2 separate regions of the Homo sapiens genome follow, and region 1 is linked to region 2. The links are contacts of gene promoters, found by promoter capture Hi-C in blood cells and fetal thymus (Javierre and others, 2016). All regions are on one chromosome and are shown on one strand. The core of a region is centred on a gene start or on the middle of the fragment in contact, and the rest is flanking DNA. Distances in the headings are between cores, read along the strand shown. Region 1 holds the start of CST3 (cystatin C). Region 2 holds the start of GZF1 (GDNF inducible zinc finger protein 1).

Region 1 (6,656 bases), core at 760-3,259, 280 kb after region 2:
CCAAAACATGACTTGTCAGAACTGTGGAGAAGCATGGGATGAGGGACCCTGGGACCAGGGTGCTAGACCTTGCCCTGTGGAACCACACACAAGTCCTGTAGAAGCACAAGCAAGGCCTGTGATCCCTCTGGTGTCAGTCTGCTCCTCTGTAAAATAGGCTCCAGGGCCCAACGATCTACAATGCCCCATGCTTCACTCCCAGTGAGAGAGAGGTGCAGGCCAGCGGGGACCCTACACCAGGGAATGGCCCTCCTGTGCAGGGAGAGGGCCCCAGCTGACGGCTGCGGGAGAAACGCGGCTGGTCTGGACTCCTCTGAATTTCCAAGAGAAGGTGGAGGAGCTCTAAAGTCTGTGTCACTGTTCGCTGCTCTGCCATGGGATGCAGGTCAAGCTGGGCCTGGTAGCCCTACTGAAGCTCCCTCCCGATCCGACCCCCTACTCCGGTCTGCTGGGTGTCTTCATCTGGCTGAGGTCTAACTCTGCATCAGCTGATAGAGGCAGGGTCAGGCATGCTCCACCCCAGCAGGGACTCAGCTGCCCTGGGATGTAGGGGGTGGTCAGCCGGCCTGAGGGTGAAGGCCGCTAGTCCTAGGGGACTGTGCCCAGGGGTGTGACTTGGGGAGGGAAGCAGGGCTCTGCAGGACAAGGTGCCAGGCTCACGTGTGGCCCCTGCGGAGAGTATTCTGGGAGGAGGATGAGCCGCATGGCCTAGATCTCATCTTGAGCAGCATCAAGCCCACCCAGAGTCAGCATAGTCTCCATCCACACCTGCTAGACCCTGGGAAATGGCACGGTCGTGGCACAGACCCAGCTGCTGCTGCAGGTTAAAAGAGGCCGAGGGGACAGGACAGGGCTGAACTCATGCACTCATGGCCCAGGAGCGTCCTAGGGCACGAAGGCCGTCAACAGACAGGGAAAGCTGAATGAGTCTGAGCATTAGATCATGAATGTGTCAGTGCTGATTTTCAAAATGGAATAGTGATTATGTGCGATATTGCCCTTGTTTTTAGGAAAAACACACTGAAGTGTTTACTTTCAAAAGATTCAGGCAAAAAATGCATATACAGTACATATACACACACCCATATTCACATTCGGAAAGTGAGCTGGGGGGAACAAACAGGGCAAAATGTTAACATCTGTGCTAACATCTGAGGGATCTGGGTGAAAGATCTACAGGGATGCCCTGTGCTATTTTGCAGCTGCTCTGTAAGTCTGAAATTACGGGAGAATAAAAAGTTAAAAGAAACAAAAGTGCTTAAAAATTATTTGGTGGAAGAACAAGGAGGCAGCCAGATGAGGGGCTCTGTTTTTCCTTCTCCTGCGTATTCAGCAGCGCACCCGGAGCCCAGCGTCCCAGGAGGTCGGGACAGAGCTGTGTGGGACGTCCTGTGCCTGCCCCCGCGCTGCGGCGCAGCTCGAGCTGGCTCCTGGAAGCTGATCTTAGGCGCCGGGCGCGGACCTGACGTGTCCGTGCGGTTCCAGGCCAGGCCAGACTCAGGGCATTCCCGGACACGCCCGCCAAGGGCTCGGGGGTGACAGCGAAGACCGGGAACAGGGTCCGGGTGAGAAGCCCAGGCGCCGGAGAGGAGCAGCACGGGGTCCGGGAGCAGCGCGGGGGGAGGCTGGGACGGCGGGGCCGGGGCTTCGGACCCTGCGGGGGGCGGCACGCACCTGCTTGCGGGCGCGCACCACCTGCAGCGCGCGGCTGTGGTACATGTCGTTGCTGGCTTTGTTGTACTCGCCGACGGCAAAGTCCAGTGCACGCCGCACACCCTCCTCCTCCACGCTGGCGTCCATGGGGCCTCCCACTAGGCGCGGCGGCTTGCCGGGACTGGAGCCGGCCGCGGGGCTCACGGCCAGGGCCACGGCCAGGATGGCCAGCAGGAGCAGCGGGGCGCGCAGGGGCCCGGCCATGGTCGGCTAGGACGCGGGACGCGGGGAGTGGGGCGCAGGCGAGAGGCTGGAGCTAGATAGAGAGGACCCGCTGCGATACCGAGGCGAGGCCGTGAGCCCCGCGAGGCCGGCGACTGCGGTTTTATCCCTTCCGGCCTTCGCCGCCCCACCCCACCGCGGCCTGCACTCCCTTTTCCGGAACGCCTCGTCCCTCCCACCTCCCTTCTCCCTCCCCGCCTCCCCTGCCTCTCCCCGCCTCCCCTGCCTCTCCCCGCCTCCAGGTCCCTCCCTATCAGTCTCCTCCCATCCCAGCCTCCCCTGCCCCTCCAGGCTTCCCTGTCCTTCCCCATCCATCCCCTTCCCTCCCCTCCCAGCCCCTCCCGGCCTCTCCTCTCCCTTCCCGCCTCCCCTCTCCCTCCCCTCCTCCCCTGGCCCCCCAGTCTCCCTGGCCTTCCCTATCCATTCCCATCCATCCCCTCCCCTCCCCTCCCCCTCCTCTCCTACTGTCTTCCAGCCTCCCCTGCCTCTCCTATCCTCCCCATTCCTCCCCATCCATCCGACCATTCCCACCTCCCCACTTCGGGCCCCTCCATGCCGCCACTCTTCAGGCTCCTTCTCCTCTGTCCCTTTCCCCTTTCAACCCCCAGACACCGCCTCCCATGCCCCTCATCTCCCTCCTCCACTCCTGTCCTTGCTCCCACTTCGCCCCCACCCCAGCTCGGCCCCTCTTCATCGCCCCTCCCTCGTCCCGCCCCTCCTCTGTCTTCCCTTCCTACCCATTCCTGGCCTCTCCCTGTCCCTGTCCCTCCTATCCTCTTCTTTCCCCTCTTCTCACCCCACTCCTGGCCCCTCTTCCCCCACCCCTTCCACACCTATGCCCCCCTTCTACCCACTCCACCCCCTCAGCTCCATCTCTTCCCAAAGACCTGTCCCTCCTCCCAAGCTTAGGTCACCCTGCCCTCCAGAGAGGTGTCAAGGCCCCCTGGGCCCTAAAAGCATACGACCCCCTAGCTTCATTTCCTCAGAAAAGGGAAAGATAGAGGTCTCGGCCTTCCGGAGTCTTCAGAGGTCCTGAGTATCCGTGAGCATTTGGTCAAGGTCTAGAAATCACTAAGGCAGAGGTGTGATTCCAGAGGCCACAGGAGACTCAGGCCATGCCCTGTGCTAGGGAACTTTTCAAACAGAAGAATTAACCTTTATTTGAGTAAAAAACTCTGGGTTCTCCTTTCACAACTCATTATTCAGTAAACAGACTTTTCACCAGCTTCCCCCTGCACCAGGTAGTCTAGGAGCTAGAGACGGAGCCTGGGTGACCGAGCCATGGACACTACATTGCAGGGCTGCTGCCAGACAGAAATGTGACACGAACCCAGGAGCAATTTAAAACTTTCTGGGAGACACATTTCAAAAAGTAAAAAAGAAACAGGTGAAGGTAATGTTTATAATATTTCTTACTTAACCTAATATATCCAAAATATTATTTCAACACATAAGAAGAATCATTAATAACATAGGTTATTTTATTTTGGGTGTGTGTACTGAGTCTTTGAAATTCCCTGTGTATGTGGGTGTCAATTGTACTGGCCCCATTTCAAGCACCCTGTGGCCACATGTGGCTGGTGGCTGTGGCACTGCACAGCCCAGCATTAGGGTGTGTGGGAGGATGGCGAATAGTGATCAATAATTAATATCAGGAAATTAGTCTCTCTGTTGGAAGTGAGAGTATGGGATAGAGAGAGATGATGCCACTGGACCTGGTCAGGGAGGACTCTATGAGACTGGAAAGGTGAGAAGCCCTGCCTAGACAGGAAACAGCCCCAGGCAGCGGGAAGGGCCAGTGCAAAGGCCCTGAGGCGGGGCTGGGCATGCCTGCTCCAGGAAGAGGAAGCTCCTGGAGGGAGTGTGAGCAGGGAAGGGAACGATCTGGAGTCTCATGGTAACTGTGGGTGGGGCCGGGTGGAAGGTGCAGTGAGACCCATTGGCAGGCAGTGGGGGTGTCAGGAGAGGGAGCAGCAGCCACAGGATGAATGTGGGAGCCCACGGGTGTCTCTTGCTCCTCCCCTCTGGGCGTCATGCTGCTGGCGCTGGTCCTCTGCACTGCTTGGAAAACTCACCTGAGTTTAGAACATCACTGTGAGTGAGGTAGAATTTATAGACAACAAAATGTCTAATCTGGGGGATTTCATTAACGCATATACCCGTGTTACCACTTTGTCCAGACCTGTGACATCTGCCTTGCCCCAGACGGTGTGTCCTCCTGCCTCTGCAGCTCACCCTCATGCCCATCCTGCCCTGGCAGCCCCCATCCTGCCCTATAGACTCGTTTGTCGCCTGTCCTTGAGCTTCCCAGAAATGGAGTCCTGCAGAGCAAGCCTGGGTGTGTCTTTGTCCTTTGCTCAGTGTGGCTTTCCAGTGGGCCCTGAGTTCCTTCATTGCCAGGATTGTGAGTTCTTCTCCCCAGACTGAGAGGACCTGATCAGCTGGGTGCCCTGTGGGGTGACAAAGTCCCCAGCTTGGGATGCTGCGGACCTGGGCTGGAATGTGACTCCAGGAGTGGCGAGGGTGGAAAGGAGGCTCTGAACAGACAGCTGCTCCCTTTGTTCTCTCAACCCCACCCTCCATGCCTGAAGGTGACCCTGTGGCAAATGCCCTTATGGCGAGGTGGCAGCTTTGCCAGAAACACCAGAAAACTCTGGGCCTTTGCAGGGCACCCAGAGGACTCTCCTGGGAGTGGTGGAGGTGAGGGTCAGCCAGGGTCAGCCCAGACCTGCTGTGATCCTGGGGCTCCGCCATGGCTGGGGCTGGATCAGCAGGAACCCGGCAGCGGGAACAATATTACTCATGGATGCTCATGTTCAGTGGTGGGACAGGGGACCTTGTTACCCGAGGCCCAGTGACCATCTCACCCCACTGTCAATCCAGCGTCCCTAGAAAAGCCATGCACCCCAGCAGATACAGCAGGTGGCCCAGATGGTGTTTACTGCTGGGTGAGGGAAGGAAGGTCTTCAAACAGGGTTGCGCATATGCCTCCTAGTTAGACAGGAAATGGGGAGAGATTTTCAGAGAAGGGAAAGAGAGGGCAGCCCCTGGCCAGGTGCTTGTGAGCAGAATGGTCATCTCCCAAGTGTGGGAGTTGGTTCTTCTCTGTGGCTCCCACCTTCCCTGGCCACTGGGGCTCTAGTCTCAAGAGGATGTGTTGTGCAGAGGGTAAGCTGAAATACACACAAATCCCCTGTCTTTTGTCATTAGGAAGGACGTGCAGGTCACCCAAATAGCAGGAGCATGGTGGTAGGTGGGGTGTGAGGTGGGAGCTGAAGTGCTGGCCTATTTCCCTGTATGTGATTCCACCGCCGGTGGTCATCCTCTGTCAGGACGTGCCCTGCAGGCACATGCTGCAGGGAGGGTCAGCTGGCCTGATGCAGCGACCTCTCTAACCCTTGTAGGACAGACACCAGTGTAGGGTGCTCTCAGGAGCTGCAGGAGCCGTGTTCAGTATGCTGTAATAGGAAGTGAAAGGTTACAGTAGCTGGGCAGCTGCTCCTGATATTTGGTGACCTTGAGCAAATGTTTTGCCTTCTCTGTGGTCATGTGTCTGGAGAGGTAGACTGCCTTGTAAACTGTTGTGCCTGGGCATCAGTGATGATGTTTAAACACGATTAAAAGTAACAGAGCAGCCTACAGCTTCAAAGACATGCTACAGAGACACAGAGAGAAACAATGGACCTAGGACTGAGCCTGGGGCCTCCAGCACCCATGTACTTGGAGGAGTCCAGCTGCCCAGGAGGGGGCATATTTCCCTTCTGCCAGGTGATGAAAGAGAAAGCCGTGGTCTCCCAGGCTGCCTTTTTGACTATTGATCTCATCATCTGAATTAGTAGAGTGAGAAATTAGGTAAATGGCAGAAATTCTCTATAATAAATAAGCAATAATAACAACACTAAACAATGCTATAATAAATAAATGACCAAACACATAAACAGCACCTAAAGGTGCAAGTGGTTAAATCAAGTTGGCCAAGAGTTGAGATTCTGCACTTTGGGTTTTGAGCAATTATCACTCGGTGTCTATAGAGGGAGCTTGGACTGAGCAGCCACGGGTTTTGGTAGCCTCTCAAAGGCAAAGCCCAGGAGCCTTCCTTATGGAGTGCCCGGAGTCCTCTGGGGTCAAGCCTGTCCCTTACACACAGGCTCCCTCCTTCTCCCCTCTCTCTCCCCAACGATGGAGGAAATGCAGATGCTTCTAGACCGTAGGCCAACATTGGTAATGCATTTGGCTCCAATAGAGATGAAGCCACATCATTAGGAAACTGATCCGCACTGGGAAGCCTGCTGGCAGCCTTGCAGACTGAGGCGAGAAAGGGCAGAGCCCGGTGTCTGCGGCCCATTTTGCACTTCATGGGGGGATGAGAATCCTTGGGACATTTCTGCTCAGGAGCAAATGTGTAAACGGCGCTCATCATTTTGGATTACAGGGTTAACATTTATTTTCTCAAGGAGTGCATTCACCAGAGCAGAGCCAGTGACTGAAGAACCACATCTGAGTGGAAGGGAGAGAGAGAGAGGCCTCCAGGGACACAGGCTGCTGGCTGGTGCTGCCAGGGCTCCACCTGACTCCCTGCAGAGGCCTGGCCACGAAGAAAACAGATGGCTCTGAGGGGGTTGAGCAATCCCTTTGGCATCTCTGAGTGGTCAGTTTACTTTCTAGACCCACGTTCTTGTAACATTCCCCTCTTAGTGTTTCTGCAGCCTTGAATATCAGTT
Region 2 (7,636 bases), core at 1,380-3,879:
ACAACCCTTGCCAGGCATGGCCCTTCATTCTTTATCATTTAGTATTGCCACAAAGAGTCTGTGAGTCTTATGACCTCTATTTTTAAAGCTATTAAGACACTCAACTAAAGCAATCCTTTCAGTATTGAATGGATAAGCTAGCATTATGTTATGCTAGCTAACATAATCGGAGACGGAGTCTCATTCTATTGCCCAGGCTGGAGTGCAATGGCATGATCGAAGCTCACTGCAACCTCCATCTCCTGGGTTCAAGTGATTCTCCTGCCTCAGCCTCCTGAGCATCTGGGATTACAAGTGCCTGTCACCACTCCCGGCTAATTTGGTTTTGTTTTTTTGAGACAGAGTTTTCCTCTGTTGCCCAGGCTGGAATGCAGTGGTGCAATCTCCGCTCACTGCAACCTCTGCCTCCCATGTTCAAGCGATTCTCCTGCCTCAGTCTCCTGAATAGCTGGGATTAAAGGCATGTACCACCTCGCCCAGCTAATTTTTGTATTATTAGCAGGGAAAGGGTTTCACCATGTTGTCCAGGCTGGTCTTGAACTCCTGACCTCAGGTGATCCGCCCACTTCAGCCTCCCAAAGTGCTAGAATTACAGGTGTGAGCCACCGCACCTGGCCTAATTTTTGTATTTTAGCAGAGACGGGGTTTCACCATGTTGGCCAGGCTGGTCTTCAACTCCTGACCTCAAGTGATCGGCCCGCCTCGGCCTCCCAAAGTGCTGGGATTACAGGCGTGAGCCACCGTGCCTGACCACCTTTTTGTAATGCAAAACAAAATCATAAAACACGATTCTGGGCCTGCTGGAGCCATGGGTGAAAACTGCGTTCATTCCAATTTCTTCAAATCATGGAATGCAAATATAGAGAGTCGGCCTAAGAAAGATTTCTGTCACTCATTCATTCTTCAAATATTTATTGAGCACCTACTATGTGTGGGAAGCTGGCTCCTGTTCAGGAAATATAATTAAAAGTACAATCTCCCAACCCTCTTCAGAAAGGTAGTGGAGAAAGAAAACACTTTGTAATTGAATAAGCATTAAACTAGAATGTGATACCCATCACAGGCAATCCATTAAGAGACTGCAAAGACAGAACGAAATCTCACTCTTTTGTGCAGCCAAGCAATCTATTACACACATTTTCAAGATAAACAATAACTAGCTCTCAAGGGAACTTGGCAGCATTTTTCATCACACACAGTTCATCTAACCTGATATTTGGGATGATCCTCTGTGTTAGCCAATTGGCTTTATCTAGAGGAAAAAGAAACTTGTATCTTTATGATATGAGATAATTTTGTAAGTTGGAGCAAAGGGCCCACTGAAGTTAGGCTCCTACTCCCCCATTAAAACTGGGAGACAGGGGCATTAACTCCCTTGATACTTAAAGAGATGGCTCCTAGGTCCTAGAAAAAGACATATCTAGGTTATAAAGCGCACAAAAAGGCCTAACTAGTCTTCAAAAGGATTTATATATTTCAAAGAGAGGAAAAAGTACTTACACTAATTACCAATTTTCTAAAAGTAAATGTTCGAAGAAAAAGGGAGGGAAATCTCATATTTTCAACAGGAAGTAGTAAACCTTATTTTAAATTTGTATTTGTCCTGACAGTCCCCAAACATTACAAACTCAACGTGTCGGTAAGACAAGGCTGAGTTAACTGCTGGCCACAGTAAGGGACAGCATGACCTGGCAAAGCTTTACCAATGGCTGGGAGCAAAAGGCAAGGTCAGTTTATTGAGAACTGGAAGTCTGACTCAAGGAAGGTGTTTCAAAGCGGGCTTTAGTTAGTATTGAGCAAGAATTGGTGGAAACAGCAAGATTTCGAGGAGTCAGCGAATCTTAGGGAATCAATTGTGCTTTCCCCGAAGAGTGGATGGGTCTCTGGGGAAGTTCTGTAGTGAACAAAGCTTTCGCCCGAATGGGAACTCCTGGAAATAAAGCCCTGCAGTAAAGACGGCAGGGTGCGGTCCCGGCTCCTGGCGCGCCGAGCCCCCCAGCAGGGCGGGGGCACCGCGGAAGAAGCGCCCCAGAGGAGAGCGCCGCGCCGAGCCCCGCCTGGCGCCAGTTCTCCAGCGCCCGTGGAGGCATCTGCGCCCCTAGTAGCCAAGGTGAGTACCAGCTCCAAGCCCGGCTTTCCGCGAGGTCCCTCGCGTGGCCACCGTGCCCTAAGGGTGCGCTCGGCCTCGGGGACGTGAGCAGCTCTTAGTGGGAAGCCAGCTGCAGGCCCTGACCGCAGGCTGCTGGGGCCCGGAAGCGCTGGCGCCTTGCGGCCAGAAGCCCGGAATGGACGCGAAAGTGACCACGCGAATCTGACGCTCACGTGACTTTTCGCGACTGGCCCCGCCCCCCTGTGGCGTGCCGCAGCGCAGACGTCGCTGTCTCCTGCGCAGGCGCAGGCCTTGGCTCGCGGCGGGTGACGCAATGCGGCGGGTGACGCAATCCGGCGTCGCCAGTCAGTCGCGCGGCCAGATCAGGTAACTGCCCGAACCGCTCCGCCGCCCGACGTGTGGCTCAGCCCCTTCCTCAGCCCCGCCAGGGGCGGGGCCGGCCGCGGGAGGGGAGGGGCCTGCAGCGACCAATCGGCGGTGCCCGCGCAGGGTGCTACGCCACGCCCAGCCGGGCCGGCCGTTCCTACCGGCCTGGTCCAGCGGACAGCGGCTGCAGCGGGGGCGCCGGCTGGGAGGTGAGTGCGCGGCCCGTAGGCCTGGCTCCGGCCCCTCGCCGCCCGCCGCCGCCTCTTTGTCCGCGCGCCCCGGCTGCTCTGTGGACCTGCGCGTCTCGGGGATGCGGGAGCGGGGGCAGGGGGCGGCCCGAGGGCCTGATCCACGCGGCCCCGGATGCCCGCGTCGGGAGGCGGCGCGTCGGGCCGAGGAGGGGCTTCTCTGTGGCTGCAGTAGTTTGTTCTCTGGGTCGTCTTTGGAGTGGCCGAGCGGCGTCCGGGCGCTGGGGCGGCCAAGTGGCGCGGGAAGGGTGGGAGGTGCCGTGAGGGCGGCGAGGACAGCGGCGGATTTAAGCCCCACTGGAAACCCCGGCCCTTGTGGCCGTGGACTGGGCTGCGGGTAGCAGCGTCTCCTGGAAGGGCTCTGGCCCCGTGAGCCTCGGGGATTCAGGGGCCGCCGACGTTGGTGCAGATGCCGGGCGCACTGGGAGGCGGCCGGAATGCCAATGAGATTCGGCGGATACGCAGCTGTCACCGGCCGCAGACTGCCCTGTCGCCACCTCCAGTGCCTGCACTCCAGTAGCCAAGCAACATAGGAAATCGCGCTCAGAACCCACTTTGTTGATTGAGAAATCAGGTCTCCTCGAGGGCCCTGTTGGCAGAGGTCTGGGGAAGTCAGGGCATCAGGCTGAGAGAGCCCTCTGCAGTCTTGTTTCCCCAGGCTGGGGCTGGGACCACTGAAACCCCAGTGGCTCTATAAGAGCCCCACTCTTATAGATCCCTTCCTTAGGCTTTGTCAGTGTTCTCACAGTTTTACTGGGGCGTCTCCTTCAGGCGACATTGATCAAGCCTCATAGGTACCTGTTTACAGCGGAACTCCCAGAGGGCAGTCTTTTCCATGTTTGAGGGACTGCTAGTTGTGGGGAGCGGTCTCATTGATGAGACTGGAGAAGGGGAGAGGGGTGGGACTAGTTTATCAGGGAAGATGATGACAACTTTTTTTCTAGACACGTTGAATCCGAGGTGACATCTGTGGTCTGGCCGAAGGAGGCTAGAAGGAAGGCATGTGCTTTGGATGGATGGAAACAGGAATCAAAGAGGAAGGTAGATTCAGGAGCTGAAGGGCAGGGAGAAAACACATTCAGGGAGTTTGTGGCAAAGCAGCAGAAATGACGATGGGGTGACGGTATCTGGAGGCCTTAGGTGGGGTTGGTGAAATTTGCATGCCCGCTGCAGTGGAAAGATTTAGGGGCTAAAGATAGCCCTTTGCCTTTGGCAAGGCTGAGGGGAAGAGTGTGTTGAGTAGTCTGAGTTGAATCCGGGCACCAGGCCCTGGCTCATGTCCCAACCAGCCATTGACTGTTACCTTGATAGGTCCTCATCTATGAAATGGGGATCACTGTAGCACCTTGGCCTATGTGTGGGAAACCAATAAACTAGCCAACAAGTTTCAGGCTCATGGAACCCTGGTAACAGCCGGTCAGCCTTCTTCAGAGGAGGAAATGGGTTCAGAGAAGTTGCTTGCTCAAAGTAGCACAGCTTGTAAAAGCTGTGGAACTTAACATTATTTCAGTAGAGTAACAATAATTCAAATTCTGAGGAGTTTAGGATGTTGGGAATGGGCGATGAATTGTGAACTACTTTTCCAAGAAGTTTTCCTCATGGAAAGTAGTTATTTAGTTGGTTCTTTTCAAAGGCAGAAATGATTCCCTGAGGTTTTGGATTTGCTCCCAGATGGTGGTGGCTATGTGTTTTAATTATCTGGTTTCCTGATCAGAGAACTAGACATTATTGTTGCCATGAATTCTTTTACAGTTTTGGGGACTATGTAAGCAAATTAGACAGTGACCTTGGTGAGCAAATTACTGTGTTAATGTATTTCACTAATCACAACTTCCATCATTTGTTTATCACTGGAGGAAACCTTAGAATACACTATTTTTCATGCCAATTTATTACCTTAGGAAAATGCATGAGGAACCTCACTTTAGAAAACTGCTAAGAAGTAAAATGTCATTCGAATCTTTACCTGAGTAAAGCTAGGTTGTTAATGAGTCTATATCCTCTCAAGTACTGAAGGAATCCTCATAAATTTTAGTCCTTTTGCATCAGTGGTTGCTCATGCATAATTCTTGTTTCTTTTTCAAAGCTGTTTTTGGAAGGAAGAAAGATGGAAAGCGGTGCAGTTCTGCTGGAATCCAAATCCTCCCCATTTAACCTACTGCATGAGATGCATGAGCTTCGCCTCCTGGGTCACCTGTGTGACGTGACAGTCAGCGTGGAGTATCAGGGTGTCCGCAAAGACTTCATGGCCCACAAGGCAGTGCTGGCTGCCACCAGCAAGTTTTTTAAGGAAGTGTTCCTTAATGAGAAGAGTGTGGATGGTACTAGGACTAATGTCTACTTAAATGAAGTGCAGGTTGCTGACTTTGCTTCATTTCTTGAGTTTGTCTACACTGCAAAGGTACAGGTGGAAGAAGATCGGGTGCAGCGAATGCTGGAAGTGGCTGAAAAGCTGAAATGTTTGGATTTATCAGAAACTTGTTTTCAATTAAAGAAACAGATGTTAGAGTCAGTACTTTTGGAGTTGCAAAATTTCTCAGAGTCTCAGGAGGTGGAGGTGAGCAGTGGCTCCCAAGTTAGTGCTGCTCCTGCCCCCAGGGCAAGTGTGGCCACCGATGGCCCTCACCCCAGTGGTCTCACGGATTCCTTGGACTACCCAGGAGAGAGAGCCAGCAATGGCATGTCTTCAGATTTGCCACCGAAGAAGTCCAAGGACAAACTAGACAAGAAGAAAGAGGTAGTTAAACCTCCCTACCCTAAAATCAGGAGAGCTAGTGGAAGGCTGGCTGGGAGGAAGGTCTTTGTGGAGATCCCTAAAAAGAAATATACGAGAAGACTCCGAGAGCAGCAGAAAACTGCTGAGGGTGATGTGGGGGACTACAGGTGTCCCCAGGACCAAAGCCCGGACAGGGTGGGCACGGAGATGGAGCAGGTTTCCAAAAATGAGGGTTGCCAGGCAGGTGCTGAGTTGGAGGAATTGTCAAAGAAAGCAGGGCCGGAGGAGGAAGAGGAGGAGGAGGAGGAGGACGAAGAAGGGGAGAAGAAGAAGAGCAACTTTAAGTGCAGCATTTGCGAGAAGGCGTTTCTGTATGAGAAGAGCTTCCTGAAGCACAGCAAGCACCGCCACGGCGTGGCCACCGAGGTGGTGTACCGCTGCGACACCTGCGGCCAGACCTTCGCCAACCGCTGCAACCTGAAGAGCCACCAGCGCCACGTGCACAGCAGCGAGCGCCATTTCCCATGCGAGCTGTGCGGGAAGAAGTTCAAGCGCAAGAAGGACGTGAAGCGGCACGTGCTGCAGGTGCATGAGGGCGGCGGCGAGCGGCACCGCTGCGGCCAGTGCGGCAAGGGCCTGAGTTCCAAGACAGCGCTGCGGCTGCACGAGCGCACACACACGGGAGACCGGCCCTACGGCTGCACCGAGTGCGGCGCCAGGTTCTCGCAGCCGTCCGCGCTCAAGACGCACATGAGGTACGCGGGGAGCCGTCCGGAGGGGTCCCTGCGCACTGGAAGGGTGTGTCAAGCACTGAGGTCGTCCTGGGATTTGATGTCTCACTGCTTAATTTCTCCGCTCCAAACCTGGGGGCTTATTTCGAGACAGCGTTTAGTTCTCTGTCAAGGTACAGGGGCTGCGAGTGATGGCTCTGCTCCCTTGTTCTGAGACCCCTGGGGCGCCCCTGCTGGCCGGGACGTCCCTCTGGTGGGACCGCGACAGCGGCCGCGGGCTCGCCCCACCGTGCTGGAGGAAGAGTTGGGCCTCGTTACCTTTATTTCTCCTTTCCTGACTCTTCGTTTAGATCTTGGGGTTCTGTGACCATCCGGGTCCCACAGTCTCAGTAGAGACCTCAGTGAGATGCCATTTCAGGCTTTAGGACTCGTCTCTGGTCTTTTGGTTCTCAGGCTTGGAAGGAGTGCCATCTAGGCAGTCTGCACTCCAGAATCAGGACAGACAGTGCTTTCTGTTTCTTAATATGTTTCTGAGCTGCAGGTGTGTGGTGATGTTTTTAAATAAGTTTTCTTATAGTTCTTAGTATATTTATTCTTGAAATCCCAACAAGCAGTTGTTTTCTCTTCTCTTCTAGATCTGCCCTCAAACCTAGGTCAGTCTTGGGTTAGCAGCATGGTGTTCATTTTTTACTCTATATAATAAGTTAAAAATACTTGGTTTAGGAAGTGCTCAGTAAATTATGTTTGATTGCTACTTCATACTAGTTGTGACATTAAAATGCTTATGCATTTTAAAAATGCCACCTTCGGCAATTTGAGAACAGTTCTCCTTTCTCTACTGGTGATGTCATATTAGGAAATGAGAGTAACATTTTTGATCATGTGACACTTAATCAGCAGTAGTTCCTAAGGTGTTTGTGGCTGATTATTCTGTATGAGACAGCTTTACAAATATCAGATTGTGGTCTTTAGTGTTTAAAAAAATCTGCAAAGGCCTGGTCTCTACCTGCACATGCCTTATAGCATCAGCAGTAGGGCTTGTGATCAGGTGTAGATGAACATTCCAGTCAGTGATTTATGGAAAATGTGTGGATCCATTGACCTTGTGCAGAAACTCAGTTTATTTTGGGATGGAGATTATGGGCTCTTGACCTGTCACTACAGTCATTCTCATTAGGTCTCTTGGAGTAAACGATTTTTGCAGGATAGAGTGGAAATTGTATTGCAAAGTGAGCTTTGAAATACATCCTAAGTTATCATCTGAATGTTGTACTTTCAGAATTCATACAGGGGAAAAACCTTTTGTCTGTGATGAATGTGGTGCAAGATTCACTCAGAACCACATGCTGATTTATCATAAAAGGTGTCACACAGGTAAATACTCATGCTGTTGTGATTGAATGTCTTTCCTAGATCTAGAAGGAAATGCAATTGATTAATTTTGAAGTTGGCATCTACCAAGGTG

The links. The method cuts DNA at HindIII sites, captures the fragments that hold promoters and counts their contacts. A CHiCAGO score of 5 or more calls a contact.
Region 1: a contact is called between the fragment with the promoter of CST3 here and the fragment with the promoter of GZF1 in region 2, in 7 of 17 cell types (M1 macrophages, M0 macrophages, M2 macrophages and 4 more). The highest score is 10.8, in M1 macrophages.

The regions. Positions count from the first base shown.
Region 1 is chr20:23,635,946-23,642,601 of GRCh38, forward strand. It overlaps CST3 (cystatin C), which reads right to left and starts at 2,010. Exons shown (of 3, transcript NM_000099.4): 1 at 1,675-2,010. The coding sequence starts at 1,917. RefSeq lists silencers at 1,545-1,794, 1,825-2,164. The HindIII fragment of the contact is 8,524 bases long and covers 1-2,837 here.
Region 2 is chr20:23,359,553-23,367,188 of GRCh38, forward strand. It overlaps GZF1 (GDNF inducible zinc finger protein 1), which reads left to right and starts at 2,630. Exons shown (of 6, transcript NM_022482.5): 1 at 2,630-2,685; 2 at 4,811-6,195; 3 at 7,451-7,545. The coding sequence starts at 4,832. RefSeq lists silencers at 1,916-2,005, 2,426-2,915 and enhancers at 2,096-2,355, 4,170-4,229. The HindIII fragment of the contact is 6,657 bases long and covers 1,908-7,636 here.